3 separate regions of the Homo sapiens genome follow, and all the other regions are linked to region 2. The links are contacts of gene promoters, found by promoter capture Hi-C in human tissues and cell types (Jung and others, 2019). All regions are on one chromosome and are shown on one strand. Each heading gives the region's core, a stretch centred on a gene start or on the middle of the fragment in contact. The rest is flanking DNA. Distances are from core to core; before and after follow the strand shown. Region 1 holds the start of TNNT3 (troponin T3, fast skeletal type). Region 2 holds the start of SYT8 (synaptotagmin 8). Region 3 overlaps LINC01150 (long intergenic non-protein coding RNA 1150).

Region 1 (3,252 bases), core at 83-2,582, 85 kb before region 2:
TCACATGGGTGCCCCAACACCCTCAGGCAGGGTGACCTCCAGGCCCCCCGACGTGCGCTGGAAAGGCCCACTCTCCAAGTGGGGAAACTGAGGCACCTGGTTTTCTGCTGAGCGCCTGGAAGCAACACAAGGCTGTTCTGTTCCCCCCAGTATGGCCTGTGTCATTGCCTCTGTTGCGGGGAGGGGCTGGTGGCAGGGGTGTGCTGGGGGCAGGGGTGTGCTGGGGGCAGGGGATGGCATTTCAACAGCTGAGACGCAAAGCAGGTGTCCAGTTAGTGCCTGCCTTGGAGGGGCTGCGTGAAAATAACCTATGCGGTCAGTTTCTTCGGGCACGTATGCATCACCTTTCCCTCCTTGGGAGGTGACGGGGCCAGGGCAGGGTGGGGAGGCAAAAGCCGCTGCCCCTTGCTTGCTGTGGCCCTGACCATGCCCCCAGACCTGTTCTCCACCCAGCCAACCTTTGCTTTGCCCCATGTCCCTCCGTGGACTTCAGGAGGGGCAGCCAAGGCCTGATCAGACGGCACAAGTCAGGGGGACCGTGTCCAGGGCAGGGAGGGTGGGTGGGGGCTCTTACGAGCGCCAGCTTCTCCAGCCTCCAGCCAGGGGGACGCGATGAAGCCCAGCCCCTCACTCTTGCCCCGTCCTGCCCCAGTCCAGCCCCTGTCCACTTCTGTCCTGCACCTCCAGACGCTGGCCCCCAAGGCTGCGTGGGCTTTAGACGCCCCCACCCCAACACACTCGGGCTGGCCATACAGGAGCCCCTGCCCTCCTGTCCTCGTTTTCATCTCTACAAAATGGCGGTGTTGGAGGCCCAGGTGCGAGAGCTGCATGGCAAGGCCAGGACGGGCCTGGGCAAATGTCTGCATGGCGACCACAAGCTGGCAACCTAAGCCCTGGCAGCACCCCTGCACAGCCTCTTCCCTGCCGCTCACAGCCCGCACCTCTCTGCCTCCTGCCCTCAGGCCACTCCCTAGCACTGAGCTTCCCTGAGCCCCGACTTGCCCCCTCCTGGCCTCCCACACTCTGCCTTCTTCTGCATCCTCCCGGTGCTGAGACCATCACACCACCATGTCCGCATCCCAGACTCTCCGGACGCTGGAGCAGCCACCTGGGGGCTCCGAGCCATGATGCTTCGAGATGCTCGGCACCACACGGACCTGGGACCTCAGCGCCCCAGGACCCCAGAGTGTCCCTGGAACGAGGGGCTGTCCACCCGCACGCAGGAGGCCCCGTCGGCCCCAGTCCTGGGTGGCCGCTCCTGCCTATACCCACCTGCGGGTCGAGTGTGAGAAGGGCTGGAGCTCCCTGTGGACAGCACCGGCTGCAGGCACTGGCGCCCGGCTCACACCCTCGTGTTATAGTGACATTTGATCTTCCTAGGAGCCCATTGGCCAGTGACTGGGTGGCCGGGGTGTGTGCGGAGTCTTGCTGGGGGGGGCTATGCCCGTGCAGGCCCCTTACCAAGTATAGGAATGGCCAGAGGAGGAGGCTGAAGGAGGCCAGGATGCAGAGGACGTGCTTGGAGAAGGAGGCAAGGTCCTCCCTCCGCCTCCAGGAGGTGTCAGCTGCTATTTTTACTCCCAGCAGCGGGTACATTCTGGATGGGCTGAGGAGGGAGGAGGAAGGTGTTGGGTGGCCCCGGGGCACCAAGCCGAGGCTCTCTTTGGGCCAAACTAGTGTGGGGGTCCCCAGAGCCAGGCTGCCGGGTTTCCCACCCCCCCGCCCCTTCTCTCTGAGATGTTCTGTGGGAGTAAACATTTGTCCAGGAAAAGGGTCCGCACAGCCGGGGTCCCCTCCCGCCGCCCGGCCCAATGCCCCAGGCCCTTCGCTGTCTCCCCCGGGGAGGAAGCAGCCTGAGGCCTCGGAGACCCCCCATGGAACTGAGGCCAGGCCCCCACCCTATCTGAGACCCTCTTAGAGGCCAGCTCTGCTTTCCTGGCTAGACACCGTTGGGGCCTACACAATAAGCGGGCGAGGGACATGGCCAGGCTGGCTGCAGTCCGAGTCTGCCATACCTCCCCCCGGGGCTGCTGCCATTGCAGGGGGCTACACATGGAGTTTGCTGGGTAAGGGTCTGGGTCCTCCCTCTAGGCCCTTTCTAACCCTGGGGCCCCACCCTGGGCACTCGCAGTGGCCGTTACCATCTGTGCCAGCATCTCCCACAGGCTCATTGTGGCGTGTGGAGACTGGTTTTCTTTCCTCAGGACTCCAGGTGGCACCGTCCGACTAGCAGACATCCTTCCTGGCCTCTGATGGCCTGTATGCTGGCCAGTGAGGCCACCAGATTGGATAACCCTGCCTCTTGGATCAGGGAAACTGAGGCACCAGGTGGGGGAGAGCAGTCTGGCACCCTGACCCACCCCCTCACTCCCCTCAGACCCCACAGGCTGAGCGTGGGCGGTGGTGTCTGCGGAACTCTTCGGTTCAGGCACAGATTGGTTCCTTCTTGGCCAGCGCCCAGGACAGGGGTGAGTCCCGAGAGGCACAGATGAGGTCCCTGTCCTCCCCAGGCTTAGAGTCAGGGACAACAGGATAACCCGGCAGGGGCTCACAGTGCCCTGGGGCCGGGTCGGGGGCCTTCCGGAAGGCTGTGGTTGGCACCTCATTCCACCCCTCCATGGAAGAGCGAGGCCGCAGAGCCCAGGGACAGGCAAGGTGTGCCTGGGGTCACACGACAAGGCGGGCTGGCCCCAGGCTGCCATTTCAAAGGACAGGGCCGGTCCCCTGCCTGCCTCCCGCTGAGTGCCCGGCACTGGGAAGGCTCTTGGAGCTGGGGTTGCTGGGAACGTCGCCGTCCTCCTGCTCTGGGTCTGTGGCTTCGTCTGCATTCCACGCCTTCCCCTCCCTGTCCATGTCCTCGATGGGCAAGGCTTTGGGGGCCACAAACAGCCCTGGCCCCTGGATATCTGTGACCAGCTTCCTGCCCACTGGGGACATCTGCAGAACTGCTCCCTCAGAGGCACGTGAGCGGGTCCCTGGGGGTCAGCGGGCCCACCCCATCCTCTCCCATGGTGGGGCCAACCTCCTTTTCCAGGCTCGCTCTGCCGGCTTCTCTAACGGAGCCCTGAGCCCACCATTCTGGTTACACGTGGTTCAGTCTGCAGGCCTAGGAAGCCTGTGCCCACCCAAGCCCTCACCCAGGCCAGGGGTCCTGAGGGGCGCACCTGAAGGTGGGTGTGCCATAACCCTGCACTGGCCCCGTGTGGCCAGCAGGGGAAGGTGCTGCCCGCCCAGCTCCTGGAGCTTTGGCAG
Region 2 (2,931 bases), core at 1-2,500:
GTGCACTTTTGTCTCATGTCTGTGTCCGGCCTGGGTGGAGACGCTGACCCGGGCATAGGGGTCCACGGTGCCCCCAGGCCTCAGGTCGGCTGCCTGCCTCAGGCCCACCCTGATCTGGGAGCCAGCGGGGTGGGCTCAGCCAAGGGCCCCTGCCCTGTCAGCTCCCCACCACCCAGGGCATGGGGTCTGCCCTTCCCCCGTCACCCTTTCCGGAAACTCGCAGAACCGCTGGTCCTGCGCAGCGGGGCCCTTCACCTCCTGGCTTCCAAAGTCGAACTCCAGGGAGAGCTGCAGGCACCCCCATTGCTGAGCATCCCCCGGGCTGGACTCCAGGCCATCCACATCAGGTTGCACCTGGAGTGAGTTGGGACAAGGGGCAGGTGGTGCTGACATCATGCCTCATCAGAGCCCTGGGCTCCCGGGCAGCCCTTGCATGACATGGGTCAAGACCCCCCGCCTCCAGGCCAGGCCACCCAACAGGCACAAATCGTCGGCTTCGCTCTGTGAGACCGGCCAAACCCACCCAAAACGTGGCATCTGGGGTACCCCCTGCCTTCCTCAAGAACCCGCTGTGGCTCCCTCGGGCCCATGGGGCAGCCCCTGTTGCATGGCCTCCTTCTCACCTCTGTTCACCCACTTTCCCTGCCAGGAAGGTCCTCAACGCCCTGCCTCTGTGGGGGTTAAACCATCCCTGGGGCTGAACTCGCCTCGCTGCCCTGGGCTCTGGAGCCTGGATTTCAAGCCCTCTCTGGACTGAGTGAGCAAGGAGCCGCTCCTCACCAGGTGGGTGGTGGTGGTGCCGCGGGCACTGCCCAGACCCACGGACTCCTTGTCCCTGGGCTTCTTCCTGTGGCGGCGGCAGCAGCAGCAGGCAGCACAGAGGAGGCAGGAGACGAGGAGGACGCCCGCGGCAAGGGCGCCGGCAATGAGAGCCCAGCGGGGCCCTGGGGTAGAGGCCAGGCTGAGTGCATCTGTGGACAGCTGCAGCCCCCACTTGGCTGGGTTATCCCCACACCCCTCTTGGGAATCCCACAACTCACAGGGGGTCCCGGCGACAAGGTCTGGAATAAGCCCAGGTATAGCTGTGGTGCCAGCTGGGGCCGGGGCACTGGGAGAGACTGGTGGGTGCCCCATCTTTCTACCCTGCTGGTTTGGAAGAAGCGGCCCAGGAGGCTGGGTCAGCTGGGAGGGTGGCCCCTCCGGCCCCTGCCCGCTACCCCATCTGACTAGCAGCAGCCAGTGCTGGGTCTGCCAGGGCAAGGAGGCAGCACGGGGTGGCCAGGGGCGAGGGTTCTGTGCAGCAGGAAGCTGAAGGGAGGGAGGCTCTGGACCCTGGCCAAAGCTCCAGCTTAGCTGCCCAGGCCCAGCCTCCCAGCCACCTCCCAGCAGCCCCCAGCCCCAGCCAAGCAGGCAGGGCCTGGGCAGCCTAGTCCCTGCCTTCACCGGACCTCAGAGCACCCTTGCCCCCACTGTAGGATGCGTCCTCCACCAGGAAGCTCTCTCCCTCCCTGCTTCTCTCTCCTGGGCCCTGGACCCTGGGCCCTGCCTGGGGGTCCCATCTCATCCCTGGGGGTCTCATCTCTGCGGTCCCATCACTTCCTTGCCTCTACCCCAGCACGCACCACAGCTGGGGCCCACCATGGTTTGCCAGCCATGCAGGTGGAGCATGTTCACTGCAGCCCCCAGGAACTTGGAAGCCCAGAGGGGTCTGCAGGGTCATGGCGGGAGGAGCAGGGCTGGCTGTCGGCGGAGCTCACTGAGCAGGCCTGGGCTAAAGGTGCATTCCTGGCAGGGGCTCAGGGCCGCAGCGCCTGAGGATGAAGGTGAGGTGGTGGCAGGTAGGGGCAGGGTGCAGCTGGGAGCGGCCAGAACATTCCACACACACTGACTCAGCCGCTGCCTGGACTCGTCCACCTGCCTGCCTGGCCACCCTTCGGCATGTGGGTGGGAAGGAAGGTGGGGCGGGCGCAGCTGCTGGCCCCTGTACCCGCCTGCCTAGGGCCTGGGGAGGGAGCACACCTGGCTGGGCTGGCTCCTGTCACCTACAGGCAGGGGAACCAGGGTGCTACATGGGGCCTACGGTGACCCCAGGCCCAGGGTGACTCCCCAGCTCAGCTCTTCCCTGACTCCACCCGCTCCAGAGAGCAGCAGCCAGCCAGGAGACTCTGTTCCTCCACATTGGCGCCTCCCCTGCTTTGCCCACAAGAGCCTGGGACCCCTCTTGCCATGTCCAAGTCAGCCTGGCCTCAGGGGCCCAGCCCAGGCCATCCCATCGGGAATAAGCAGCTGTTGAGGCCAGATACCCTCACCTCTGCAGCCCCCCAGTCTGGGGCAGAGCAAGGAGACAGACAGAAAGGGACCCTGCCATGACTCCAGACACACACACACACACACACACACACACACACACACACACACACACACGCACGCGCACACAGCATCAATGCCCCACTCCCTGGCAGGCTGGGAGAGGCAGCTGCACTCCCAGAACGGACCCAAACCCCCAGTGTTCAGATGAGGGGGCTGCAGCTCAAGGAGGGGAGGGAGGGTCCAGGTTCCAGCCCCACACGCATGTTGACCCTGTGAGGTCAGCAGGCCAGGTGTTTTACAGACGAGTGGACCGAGGCTGGGAGCTCTAGTTTTGTGGCTCTGGAGGCCAGCATGGCCTGGGAAGCCCAGCCTGTCCCCAGAACACAGGGGCCAGCACAATGGAGGGATTATAGGTACAAAAAGGAGATGCGGAGGTCAGGGCCAGCTTTCCAGGCTGCACCCTGTGCGCAGGGCCCCATGCTCAGAGGGGTCCCTGCTTGGTTTAATGCGTGCTGGGGCCATCTTGAAATTCTTAATTTTGGAACAAGATGCTGCACATTTTCATTCTGCACTGGGCCTCACAAATGACGGAGCTTGTCGAGTTCGGGGGACCCTTTGGGT
Region 3 (3,213 bases), core at 585-3,084, 66 kb before region 2:
GATAAAGACAAAATAAGATCATAAATATAAATTAATTAAGACAAAGAAAAAGCTTAAGTGACCAATTGATAAGAAAAAATGAATCTGCTGAGCTTTTGGCCTGGTTACTATCCCATACAGAAAGCTATCCTAGATGAAGTGTGTCTAAAAGGTCTCTCAGATCCAGCAGGCTTTACTTCAGATCCACCCACGCTGAGCCCAGGCCGAGGGAAGCCTTTCTTTGCCTTATTCCTTAATGGGTCCCACCCTGTACTCAGTAATTTCAGCTAAGAAGCAGTAGCCACATTAGAAGGACCACCTATCCACAGGTTGGTGTGAAAGTAATTGTGTGTTTTTTTTTTTTTTTTGAGATAGAGTCTCACTCTGTCGCCCAGGCTGGAGTGCAGTGGCGCGATCTCTGCTCACTGCAAGCTCCGCCTCCCGGGTTCAGACCATTCTCCTGCCTCAGCCTCCCGAGTAGCTGGGACTACAGGCGCCCGCCACCACGCCCGGCTAACTTTTTGTATTTTTAGTAGAGACGGGATCTCACCATGTTAGCCAGGATGGTCTCGATCTCCTGACCTCATGATCCACCCGCCTCGGCCTCCCAAAGTGCTGGGATTACAGGCGTGAGCCACCGCGCCCGGCCATAATTGTGGTTTTTGCAATTACTTTTCAACCAGCCTAATAACTAAAATGCACCTTTCTGACATTCAACGGCTACCTTGAAACCATTTTGTGAAAGAAATTTACATCTCCACAAGACATTTCCATTTGCAACGTCTGGGAGGGACATCCCTTTGTTTTAAATTTACGTAACAAGTCTTACCTTTGTTTAACGTGTTTTTCCTGGCCATGTTGTCTTCACTGGGCCTTGCTTTTTTCTTGGTTGAGCAAATGATGATGGTACAGTATTTAAGCTGAAAGTCTCAGCTTAAATAGCTTTTCATATATACATTTTCTGCCTTGTTTCACCTAAGAGTTATCTTTTTTGAAGGCAAATTGTTCCCTAGCTAACGATTGCTTAGGATGATAAAACAAGTAATTAGAAGATTGATAGTCTAAAGGGGGAAAAGAAAACTATTTGAAAGCTGGCAAATGAAAATTCTTTCTGAAATCTGTAAGATCTGTTTCTATCTGTGTCTGTTATGACTATATGTCTCTCTGTATGACATGTATCTGATAATATTTAGGAAAAAGCTGAAACCACCTTTGCATTGTCTCTTTGACTGAGACGGTGAGAGACATCTAACTTAATTGACTCCATCTTGCCTTTTTTTTTTTTTAGAGGTGGTGTTTTGCTCTTGTCGCCCAGGCTGGAGTGCAATGGCGTAAACTTGGCTCACCACAACCTCTGCCTCCTGGGTTCAAGCGATTCTCCTGCCTCAGCCTCCCAAGTAACTGGGATTACAGGCATCTGCCACAACGCCCGACTAATTTTGTATTTTTTTTAGTAGAGATGAGGTTTCACCATATTGGCCAGGCTGGTCTGGAACTCCTGACCTTGTGATCTGCTCACCTCGGCCTCCCAAAGTGATGGGGTTACAGGCGTAAGCCACCGTGCCTGGCCCTTCCATCTTGCTTCTAACCTCCTTGCTTATTCCTGTCCTTGCTTATTCCTGGGAGTAGGCTGAACTAACTTTGGGAGAAACTTAGTTTATAGTTTAAAACAAAGACGATAACAGCCTTTCCCAGTGGAGAGAGCTACTAAGGGCCCCTATAGTATCCAAAAAAGAGAGAGACAGAAGTATTTGATAAATTAAATTACATGGGAAGCACTGCCAAATAAGAAATGATGTTTAACCTTATTTGAGATATTGTTTGTGAATACGTCATTAATATATGCTCCAAAATTGTATGGGGTTCCTAAAATTCTGATACATCCGGGTATATGCTGTCACTCTTAATTACAGTTAAGTTATTGTAGGCCACAGAAGTAATCAAAATTCCTTGTCAGTTCTTCTTTAACCATGACCATTTTACGTCATTTCCAGAGTTAATTGCTTTTTTCTGACGTTTCTGAAAACTCACAAACACACACAGTCCTACAATATTGAGTCCTCCAGGAGGTTCGTGAAAGGAGAGAAAGGACCCTGATAAGCCCTCTTGAATAGGCTTCTGATAACTTTAGTGTAATGTCATTTGGACTGGGTAAAAATTCCCGGAACTCTAATGGAAAGATTGACTGGTTTATAAAATTGCTAACCTGGGCAGGACAAAAATTAATTGAATACCAAGAAAACACTTTGCCAGCTTTTCATGCTAAATCAGCCAGTACTGATATTGTTTAGATACCCAATTTGAATTAAATCCATCGTCCAAGTCAAATTACCTATGATAACCCTTCTAATAAACAGTGCTATGCACCTGAACTGGAGAAACAAAATTGGTATTTAAGAAGATATAAGTCCAGCATCAAGCATGGACACATGGACAGCCAAGATGGCCACCTGGTCCTTCCTGTGTCCTTGAAGCTTCCACTATTAAATGCTCTGCACTCCATGATTCATCATGGAAGAGACAAATTAATCCAAATTTTATATATATATGTATATATAATATACATATATATATTTGACATGGTGACCGTTGTAAGTTGTTAAAATGGTTTACGACCAATGTTTGGTCTGCCAAACCCATAATCCTGGGAGGACAATCGAAACTTCCATTACACTTCTGCTACTTGATGGGCCATTGAAACATTGCTGGAGGGATTTCCTTCAATTGTCATTTTCAATGCGTGTTTTCTGGTTATATAGAAGCTTTCCCAGGCAAGAGCACTGATGTTATAGCAGTAGCTAAAAGATTATTAGAAAATTGTTTTTCTCATGGGACGTCCCTTGAGAAATCTCCCATGATAGATGTACTTGTTTCACTGCTCAAGTGGTAAAACTGTTAATAACTTGTTACAGATACAATAATATTAAGCAAGGGAAATGAATGAACTGGGCTGCCTTGGTCAAGGGTGTTGCAGGTGGATGGCCGTCGGGTCCATTTCCAGTGGAAAACATAAGTTGGTGCCTTATGAAATAGTCCCTGGAAGTCCTATATAGAACCTCATGTATCTTCCACTCCTCAACTCCGATATGGCTAAAGGCTCCTAGGCCTTAATGCATTATGCCTAAGTATATTTTCACCAGGTACAGAAAGCTTTTCATGGTCCACTGAGGACCCTATCAAACGCTTCACAATCTAGAACCCAGACATTTGGTTTTCTGAGAGTATCACAGAAAG

The links. The method cuts DNA at HindIII sites, captures the fragments that hold promoters and counts their contacts. A contact is called where the count stands out against the background at its distance.
Region 1: the fragment with the promoter of TNNT3 here is called in contact with the fragment with the promoter of SYT8 in region 2 in 2 of the 25 tissues and cell types used here (lymphoblastoid cells and spleen).
Region 3: a contact is called between a fragment that was not itself captured here and the fragment with the promoter of SYT8 in region 2, in 11 of the 25 tissues and cell types used here (H1 embryonic stem cells, IMR-90 fibroblasts, aorta and 8 more).

What each region holds. Positions count from the first base shown.
Region 1 is chr11:1,917,783-1,921,034 of GRCh38, reverse strand. It overlaps TNNT3 (troponin T3, fast skeletal type), which reads right to left and starts at 1,332. Exons shown (of 16, transcript NM_006757.4): 1 at 1,273-1,332. The HindIII fragment of the contact is 33,765 bases long and covers 1-3,252 here.
Region 2 is chr11:1,833,309-1,836,239 of GRCh38, reverse strand. SYT8 (synaptotagmin 8) reads right to left here and starts at 1,250. Exons shown (of 8, transcript NM_001394072.1): 1 at 1,041-1,250; 2 at 781-944; 3 at 256-354; 4 at 1-114. The coding sequence starts at 1,134. RefSeq lists enhancers at 2,060-2,673, 2,674-2,931. The HindIII fragment of the contact is 28,273 bases long and covers 1-2,931 here.
Region 3 is chr11:1,899,366-1,902,578 of GRCh38, reverse strand. All of the region lies in intron 1 of LINC01150 (long intergenic non-protein coding RNA 1150), which reads right to left. It also overlaps a transcript of PRR33 not described here. Among named protein-coding and RNA genes, the nearest start is that of LINC01150, 4.2 kb to the right of the region's middle. The HindIII fragment of the contact is 4,546 bases long and covers 1-3,213 here.